2 separate regions of the Homo sapiens genome follow, and region 1 is linked to region 2. Evidence: promoter capture Hi-C in human tissues and cell types (Jung and others, 2019). All regions are on one chromosome and are shown on one strand. The core of a region is centred on a gene start or on the middle of the fragment in contact, and the rest is flanking DNA. Distances in the headings are between cores, read along the strand shown. Region 1 has its middle 57 kb from the start of DCT. Region 2 holds the start of SOX21 (SRY-box transcription factor 21).

The links. Contacts are between HindIII fragments. The study calls those that stand out against the background at their distance.
Region 1: a fragment that was not itself captured here is called in contact with the fragment with the promoter of SOX21 in region 2 in 1 of the 25 tissues and cell types used here (lymphoblastoid cells).

What each region holds. Positions count from the first base shown.
Region 1 is chr13:94,420,884-94,425,390 of GRCh38, reverse strand. No RefSeq gene overlaps it. Among named protein-coding and RNA genes, the nearest start is that of DCT, 57 kb to the left of the region's middle. The HindIII fragment of the contact is 3,916 bases long and covers 421-4,336 here.
Region 2 is chr13:94,711,132-94,715,319 of GRCh38, reverse strand. It overlaps SOX21 (SRY-box transcription factor 21), which reads left to right and starts at 2,775. Exons shown (of 1, transcript NM_007084.4): 1 at 2,775-4,188. The coding sequence starts at 3,271. The coding sequence ends at 4,101. SOX21-AS1 (SOX21 antisense RNA 1) reads right to left here and starts at 2,604. Exons shown (of 2, transcript NR_046514.1): 1 at 1,927-2,604; 2 at 1-1,682. It overlaps LOC112268114 (a long non-coding RNA gene), which reads left to right and starts at 1,877. Exons shown (of 2, transcript NR_158368.1): 1 at 1,877-1,912; 2 at 2,058-2,600. RefSeq lists an enhancer at 1,550-2,051. The HindIII fragment of the contact is 11,141 bases long and covers 1-4,188 here.

The sequences.
Region 1 (4,507 bases), core at 1,129-3,628, 290 kb after region 2:
TCAGTGCTGCCTTTATGTAGCCCTATATGGGGTGTGGATCACCTCTTATCATCTCCAAGCCCCCATCACCTCTCTTCTGGACAACTGTAATTGCCTCCTAAGCAGATCCTGCCTCTGCCCTTGTCCTCACACAGCCTCCCTCAGCAGCAGAAGTCATCCTGTCACTCCCCATTAAAACCCCCCAGCTATGCCCCCCTCACTCAAGGAAAAGCCAAAACCTTACAATGACTTAAAAGACCCATGCGATCTACCTCTCTTCTTCCCTCTCTGAATTCATTCCTACAACTCCCGCTGTCTTGCTCACGCCATGCCAGTCATGCCGGTTTCCTAGCTGTTCCTCAATAGCATGTTATGTCTCAGGGCATTTGCACATACTGTTCTCTCTCTCTGGAATACTTTTCTCCCTGACACAGGCATGCTTGCTCTTTTACTTCTCTCATGATTTTACCCAAAAGCTACCTTCTTGGTGGGGTCTTTCCCGACCACCCTGCGTACAATTTCAATTCCCCACCTTGGCACTTCATATCCCTCTCTCTCATTTGTTTTTCCCTTTAACACTTAACATTATCTAACATCCTATCCCTTTCCTTATTCATTTTGTTTATTGTCTGTCTCCCACACATAAAGTAAGTATCATGAATACAATGCCCAGAACAGTGCCTGGCACATAGAAATCACTTATTATATTATATTATATATTATATAATATATAATATATATTATAATATACTATATAATATATTATACTATATAATATATAGTATAGATTATATATATTATACTATATAATATATATATTATTTGGATAATTGAATAAATAAATAATAACAGTTTAAATTATTTTATTCAGTGACCTTTAGGGAATTATAGATGCAAATTGCCACCCCAGAGGAAGTTCAGAGCTGGAAGTACTAGTTTGCAAACTCATCTGCCAGAAGTGATCACCAAATTGTTGAGATAGAGGTAATGAAATCAACAACATGGTCCTGGATGTCAGGAAAATGGAAAGGATTAAATGGCAAGGAGGAGGGAAAGACAAAGAGCTTGGGGAGAGCCAACATTGTGGGCCCAGAGACAGGAGACTGGGGACATTTAATCCCAAGTTTTCCATTGGCTAGCAGCTGATCTTGGGTAAGCAAGGTGAGGCAAGGTGACCTCTCAGTGCTTTATTTTGTCCATCTGTAAAATTGGGGAAGGAGGTGTTGGGATTAAATGATCTTGAAGACCCTGTCAAGCTTACAAGGAGAAACTCCGTAATACAACAGAAAGAACACAGAACACTGAACTAAAAGGCAGAGATCTGAGACTAAATTCCTTTTCTAAGCAAGGATTGACTTAATAACATGTATGAAAACATTTAAAAAGTTGCTGGCATGTAGAAGGGGTTCAGTGATCATTCACTGAATCTGAACTAATGTTTGTGAATCTGAAATTTATGTTTTTTGATGATAAAAAGGAATGGAGGACCATTTTGTTTCCATGCAATTTTTGCCTTACTTATCCTCAGAAGCTTTGGCTGACAAAGGTAAATAAAATGGAAAACAGAGAACAATTAAAAACACCAAAAGGACAACAACAAAGCAGAAGGAACACAAGAATCAATAATACTTTGTTCCTAGCACAGTTTAGTTACAGAGTTGGACACTGAATCTAGCTCTGAGTTTCTTAGCAGCTAAATTAAACCTAGGATTGCATCGCCTTCTATAATCAACAGTAGAGCCTCCTTCCGGGAAGCGCATACACTCATTGGTAGGGAAATTTCTTGCACATAACATATAGTTGGTCATGTCATTATGTCATTTGGAACACTGATAACTTTGGGCAGTCTCTTCATTCATGGTTTGGTAATTTATTGTGAACCAAAAAAACCACAAAGATGGAGTAAAGTGTTTTTGCTTGTTTTTGGATTCAGAGAGTGGGAAAACAAAAGTGTTTTTTTTTGTTTTTGTTTTTTTTTTTCTTTTTTTTGAGACCGAGTCTCGCTCTGTCGCCTAGGCTGGAGTGCAGTGGCACAAACTCGACTCGCTGCAAGCTCCACCTCCCAGGTTCACGCCATTCTCCTGCCTCAGCCTCCTGAGTAGTGGGGACTACAGGTGCCTGCCACCACGCCTGGCTAATTTTTTGTATTTTTAGTAGAGACGGGGTTTCACCGTGTTATCCAGGATGGTCTCGGTCTCCTGACCTCGTGATCCTCCTACCTCAGCCTCCCAAAGTGCTTGGATTACCAAAAGTGGTTTTAATATGTAATAATATTATTAGCTGGGCACATACCAGCATGCCCAGCTAATTTTTTAATTTTTAGTAGAGACGAGGTCTTGCTAGCCTTGGCTTCAAGGAGTGTAGGGAAAAGCATGAGATCAAAAGTAACCTTAGTTCTCCTTAGCTTTTGGGAACTCTTATATTACTTTTGAACAAAGGACAGTCTCTACTGTTTAGCCCTCAGTTATGAGAATTTCATTAGTCCTGGTGTGAAAACAGAAACAATATTCTTAAGGTATAAAGGCACTACACAACTTGAATGCTTTAAACAGGTTGAGCATCCCAAATCTAAAAATCCCAAATCTGAAATACTCCAAAATCTGAAAACTTTTGAGTGCCGACATGATGCTACCAGTGGACAATTCCACACCTGACCTCGTGTGACAGGTTGCAACCAAAATGCAGATGCACAACACATAGTTTGTTTAGCAACGCCAAGGAAAAAGACCCTCCCATCCCCCTTCGGCTGCAATATATCTTTTCTGAACATACCCAGATTCTCCTATGCAAGCACACCCACAAATGGTGGTAAAATGGTTCAGTGTACACAAACTTTGTTTCGTGTACAAAAATATTAAACATATTGTATGAAATTATTATTGGACATACAGACTATGTGTTTAAGGTGTCTATGAAATATAAATGAATATCATGTTTAGACTTAGGTCCCCGCCATGAGCTATCTCATTATGTATATGCAAGTTTTCCAAAATTAGAAAAAATCTGAAATCCGAAACACTTCTTGTCCCAACCTTTTTTTCTTTTCTTCTTTTTTTTCTTTTTTTGTGACAGGGTCTCACTCTGTCACCCAGCCTAGAGTGCAGTGGTGCAATCATGGCTCATTGCAGCCTCAACTTTTTGTGCCCAAGCGATCCTCCCACCTCAGCCTCCTGAGTAGCTGGGACTACAGGCATGCACCACCATGCCCAGCTATTTTTTTTTTATTTTTACTAGATATGAGGTCTTGCTATGTTGCCCAGGCTGGTTTTGAACTCCTGAGTTCAAGTCATCCTCCTGCCTCAACCTCCCAGAATGTTGGAATTACAGGTGTGAGCCCTGGCTCCTGACCCCAAGCATTTTGAATAAGGGTTACTCAATCTATATATAGAAATGAGTCGTCTCCTCCATTTTGCCCCTGAAAATATTTAACAGAACCTCTCCTTCCCCTTCATACACTATCATATAATTTTTTAAAAAATTCTGAAAGATATTATGATTATGTTTCAAGCATTAATGAAAGATGTGGTGGGTTCTTACTAGACTCTTGATTTAGGACTTTATATGCCTTCAGGGAAAGAAAGCAGGGTTTGAAGAAAAGGTAAAATGGGGAGGAAAGTTAAATGACCCAAAAGTCAACTTGAACTTTATAAAGTACTGTACACATGTATTGATTATTGATGCTGTGTAACAAATGGACACAAACTTGAAGGTGCAAAACAACAAACATTTATTATCTCACAGTTTCTGTGGGTCTGGAATCCAGGCACAGAATAGCTGGATTTTCTGCTCAGGGTCTCACAAGGCTGCAATGAAGGCAGCAGCCAGGGCTGATGTCTCATCAGAGGCTGGACTGGGGAAGGGTCTGCTTCCCAGCTCACATGGTTATTGGCAGCATTCAGTTCCAGTGGCCTGTTTGACTGAAGGCCTCAGTTACTTGCTGTTTGTCATCTGGATGCTACTGGGCCTTACCAACATTTTTGCTTGTTTCTTTAAAGCTAGCAAGGGGGAGAAACTTTTGGCAAGATAAGTATCACAGTCTTATATAACATAATTTCATAATTCACACACCTCATGTACTTGCTTTTACCTTTGCTATTTTCTGTTGGTTAGTGATATGGTTTCACTTGAGGAATTCTTCCCTGATATGTTTTGGCTCTGTGTCCCCACCCAAATCTCACCTGGAATTATAATGTCCACAATAGCCTCATGTCAAGGGTGGGATCAGATGAAGGCAATTGCATCATGGGAACAGTTTTCCCCATACTGTTCTAGTGATAATGAGTGAGTCTCATGAGATCTGATGGTTTTATAAGCATCTGACATTCCTCTGCTTGCACTCATTCTCTGTCCTGCCACCCTGTGAAGAGGTGCGTTCCACCATGATTATAAGTTTCCTGAGGGCTCCCCAGCCATGCAGAACTGTGAGTCAATTAAACTTCTTTTCTTTGTAAATTACCCAGTCTCAAGTACTTCTTCATAGCAGTGTGAGAAAGGACTAATACAGTTAGAAGTAAGTGAAAGGTGCCAT
Region 2 (4,188 bases), core at 1,526-4,025:
TATACAAACATTTCTAATGTAATAATTTATTGCAGTAGATTTTTACACTTAAATTTGAATAGTATAAAATCACTTAACTCACTAATATAAAACACATTTTCACAATCCTTCTCCCTTTTTATGTGTCAAAATAATTTTCACGATTAAATTTAACTTTATTCACAATATTTAGTGAATAACAGATTTCATGTTTTGTGGCCTATATATACATATGTTCTTTATGTTCCAGTGTATAGTATTTTTGTCTCAAACCTATAAGTCAGTAGGTGAAAAGCTCAGGGACGATAATTTTGTAGTTTATCATCACAAAACAGTATATTTAATATTCCAGTCTATGTAATTACACATGCTAGTGTTTTCCCATTGCTCCAGCCAGAGTCTGTGAATGACAAGAGTGTCTTTACAGAGCCTGTAAAGGAATATGGTTCTGGAGAAATCAGTCCAATTATTTTAACAATGCAAGGGCATAACCGATACAAAATAAGCTTGTCAATACGACATCTTCAGAAAAACAAAAACCCACATAGATGCCACTGCTGTTCACAGTTTTGTTATCACGACTGTAATTTTTAAGTCACTATTCTTTTATTAAAATGAACAAAACAAGCCTAACTTTTACATAAATCTGATGGCCTGAAACAGTTTTAATTCACGTTCATAATTACAATCAAAGCTTTTGTGTGTGTGTGTGTGTGTGTGTGTGTGTGTGTGTGAATGAACTGAACATAAATCGTAGGAAGACTTAAAGAGTTAACCGTTTGTAGATGTTCCTACTTGCACATACCACAGGGCTAGGTCAAATCCAAACTGCCAAAGAAAGAAGGCAAGCAAGTTCTCCCTGAAGGGCAGGCCACCATGTGAATAAAACCTCCAGACAGATCATGTTCTAAATGTGCCGCAGCATACCAAAAAGTGAGGAAAATACGGAAACAGAATCATGCTGTTTGACTTCTGCATCGTGTTAACTATTTTTTTTAAAAAACTGCTCTAACTACTAAAGAAGGAAATTATGCTTAGCATAAAAATATTCCAGCACTGAGTGATTGGTACGTTTTACTTCTCTCTTCCAGGGAAACTACTTACACTTATTGATTTTAAACACCTTCACCTCAGCAGCGCATGTAAGTGAGACACTGTAAGTTAACTGTACCTTAAAGAGATCAGTATATAGATGGTTCTGGCGACCAAGATTACAACAAAAGACAAACAACACAGAATTTTTAAAGAGCTGAATAGTCAGTCAAGGATGCATACTCTCAGTCTGGGCTAGCTCTTTTTTGGAAAGGTTGCCAAGAATGTCCTTATTCCCTCCAGAGTTATTTTTCACTCCACTACCTCTGACTAGGTGCATCGCCAGTGCAAGAAAATGCGAGAAGCCTCTGTTTCTGTTGCAAGCAACACCTGGACCTCCAAGGAAAATGAGCACTTTCTTGCTAGGAACAGTCTCAAACATTTTCAAGGGTGAGTCTCCCCTTCTCCAGGTTTAACCCTCTTCCTCCGTAGCTGGAGAGGCTCTCCTACTCGTGCCCGCCGCCTTCTTCCTCCCGGCGAGGATTCCAGGGCCACAACCAGGGCAGCTGCACGCCAGGCCGGCCTGGGTAGCCGGGATGACACCAGGGTTTGCCAACGCCAAACAGGGCGCAGACTCCCCGGCGCGCTCCGGACTCTCCACTCGCCTAAACCTGCTCTCAAGTGAAAAGGAGTGGGAGGAGGAGGATTGGGAGGGGGCGGGGGGCGGAGGGGATCTGTTAATTCGAGGTCCTGGGGGTGTGGGAGCGGGAGGCGGCTCCGCTGATCCCTCCTCCCTCCCCGAGTCCTGGGCTCCACCTCCTCCGCAGGCCCCCAGATATACACACACAGCCGCGGCTGGACATGCACACCCAGTGCCGGCTCCGGGCGCGCACACATGCAGGTAGCCACACTCACCTGAGCCGGTGCAGAGGGCGGCCTGGGCTGGGAAGGGGCCCCCTGCGCCGCGGGAGTGGGGAGAGCGGGAGGTGCCACAGCGCGGACCTGCGAACTGAGGTGATGGCCCGTTTTCCTTAACTCTCCTGCAGCACCTCCGCCCCTGCGCCGGCTCGGCTCTGGCCACAGCAGCGAGGACAGAGGGGCCCCGGGCGCGGCGGACTCGCGGGCGCACGCTCCCAGGAGCGCGCCGAGAGGGGCGCCGCGGCGCAGGAAACTTGGGCGAAGTTAGTTGCAAGTGCCAGGCGGCTGCCGAGAAGAGCGAGGCGGGGACGCGGCCGGTGCCAGGCCTGCGGCGCCGCGTGGAGGCTGCGCTGCCCTCCGCGGCCGGCGAGCTCCGGGAGCCCTAAGTCGGCAGGCGCGCCTGAAGGGGCTCGGAGCGAACAGAGCCGGCATGGCCCAGGGGACGGCCGGACGCGGCTCCTCGGCGAGCCGGGAGAACTTCCTCTGAGGCCGGGCGACCAACGCTTGCTCAAGCCTCATCCACCCTCCTTCCTCGCCCCACCCGTCAGTCCAGCAGCGGGAGAGGAAGACTCGAGAGGCAGGTGCTGCGGGGGACAGCTCCCCCCTCCAAAAAAAAAAAATCACCCAGCCGATTGGGGGTTTCCCATCGGCGCACCCTGCCCGGAGCCAAGAAGACAGGCTGGTGCTGCTGTATTTGTATTTATATCCATTGCTGCGCTCTGCGTTCTCGTGGCACGCCTGGACACTCCTCCGCCTCCCCCTCCTCTTCCTCCTCCAGGGCCACCTCCCCGCCTTCCCCACCCCCATCTGCTTCTGTCAAATGAGAAAGTCACCGAGGAGAACCCAAACACTCCAGCCGCTGAGAGCCCCCTTTGGCACTTGGCAGCACGCGGCGGCGGGCTCCTCGGCTCAACTTCGAGGAGTCTCCGCGACGCAACTTTTGGGGACGCTTTGCATTTAAGAGAGAACGACCGAGGAGGAGGAGCGCTCTGCCCGGCCGCCGCTACCTGCGGGGAGCTCACCAGCAAACGCCACTGCAGACGAAGGACCCAAAGAACGTAAAGGGCAAACTGCCGCCGCGGGGAGGGGGCACCGCCGAGAAGTTAGAGTGTCCCAGAGACAACCTGCTCGAGCGCTCGGCCGGAGACACTAAGGCGGCCCGGGGCGCGGCGTGGCCCTGGGCTGGTCCCCCAGCCCCCTCCTCCGGGGCGGGAGCGACGCCGGGGCGCGACGAGCCCCGGCCGGCCGAGCGGGTCTCCGCGGGCAGCCAACATTGATTTCCTCCGGGCCGAGGGCGAGGGCCCGGGAGGCGGCGGGCTGCAGCCGCGGCAGGGCGAGAGCATGTCCAAGCCGGTGGACCACGTCAAGCGGCCCATGAACGCCTTCATGGTGTGGTCGCGGGCTCAGCGGCGCAAGATGGCCCAGGAGAACCCCAAGATGCACAACTCGGAGATCAGCAAGCGCTTGGGCGCCGAGTGGAAACTGCTCACAGAGTCGGAGAAGCGGCCGTTCATCGACGAGGCCAAGCGTCTACGCGCCATGCACATGAAGGAGCACCCCGACTACAAGTACCGGCCGCGGCGCAAGCCCAAGACGCTGCTCAAGAAGGACAAGTTCGCCTTCCCGGTGCCCTACGGCCTGGGCGGCGTGGCGGACGCCGAGCACCCTGCGCTCAAGGCGGGCGCCGGGCTGCACGCGGGGGCGGGCGGCGGCCTGGTGCCTGAGTCGCTGCTCGCCAATCCCGAGAAGGCGGCCGCGGCCGCCGCCGCTGCCGCCGCACGCGTCTTCTTCCCGCAGTCGGCCGCTGCCGCCGCCGCTGCCGCCGCCGCCGCCGCCGCGGGCAGCCCCTACTCGCTGCTCGACCTGGGCTCCAAAATGGCAGAGATCTCGTCGTCCTCGTCCGGCCTCCCGTACGCGTCGTCGCTGGGCTACCCGACCGCGGGCGCGGGCGCCTTCCACGGCGCGGCGGCGGCGGCTGCAGCGGCGGCCGCCGCCGCCGGGGGGCACACGCACTCGCACCCCAGCCCGGGCAACCCGGGCTACATGATCCCGTGCAACTGCAGCGCGTGGCCCAGCCCCGGGCTGCAGCCGCCGCTCGCCTACATCCTGCTGCCGGGCATGGGCAAGCCCCAGCTGGACCCCTACCCCGCGGCCTACGCTGCCGCGCTATGACCCCGCGGGGCCGCCTCGCGAGGACCGGTGTGCACACGTGTACATATGTATAGGTACGAGCGCTGCGGCCTCCCCGTGCGCCCTCCC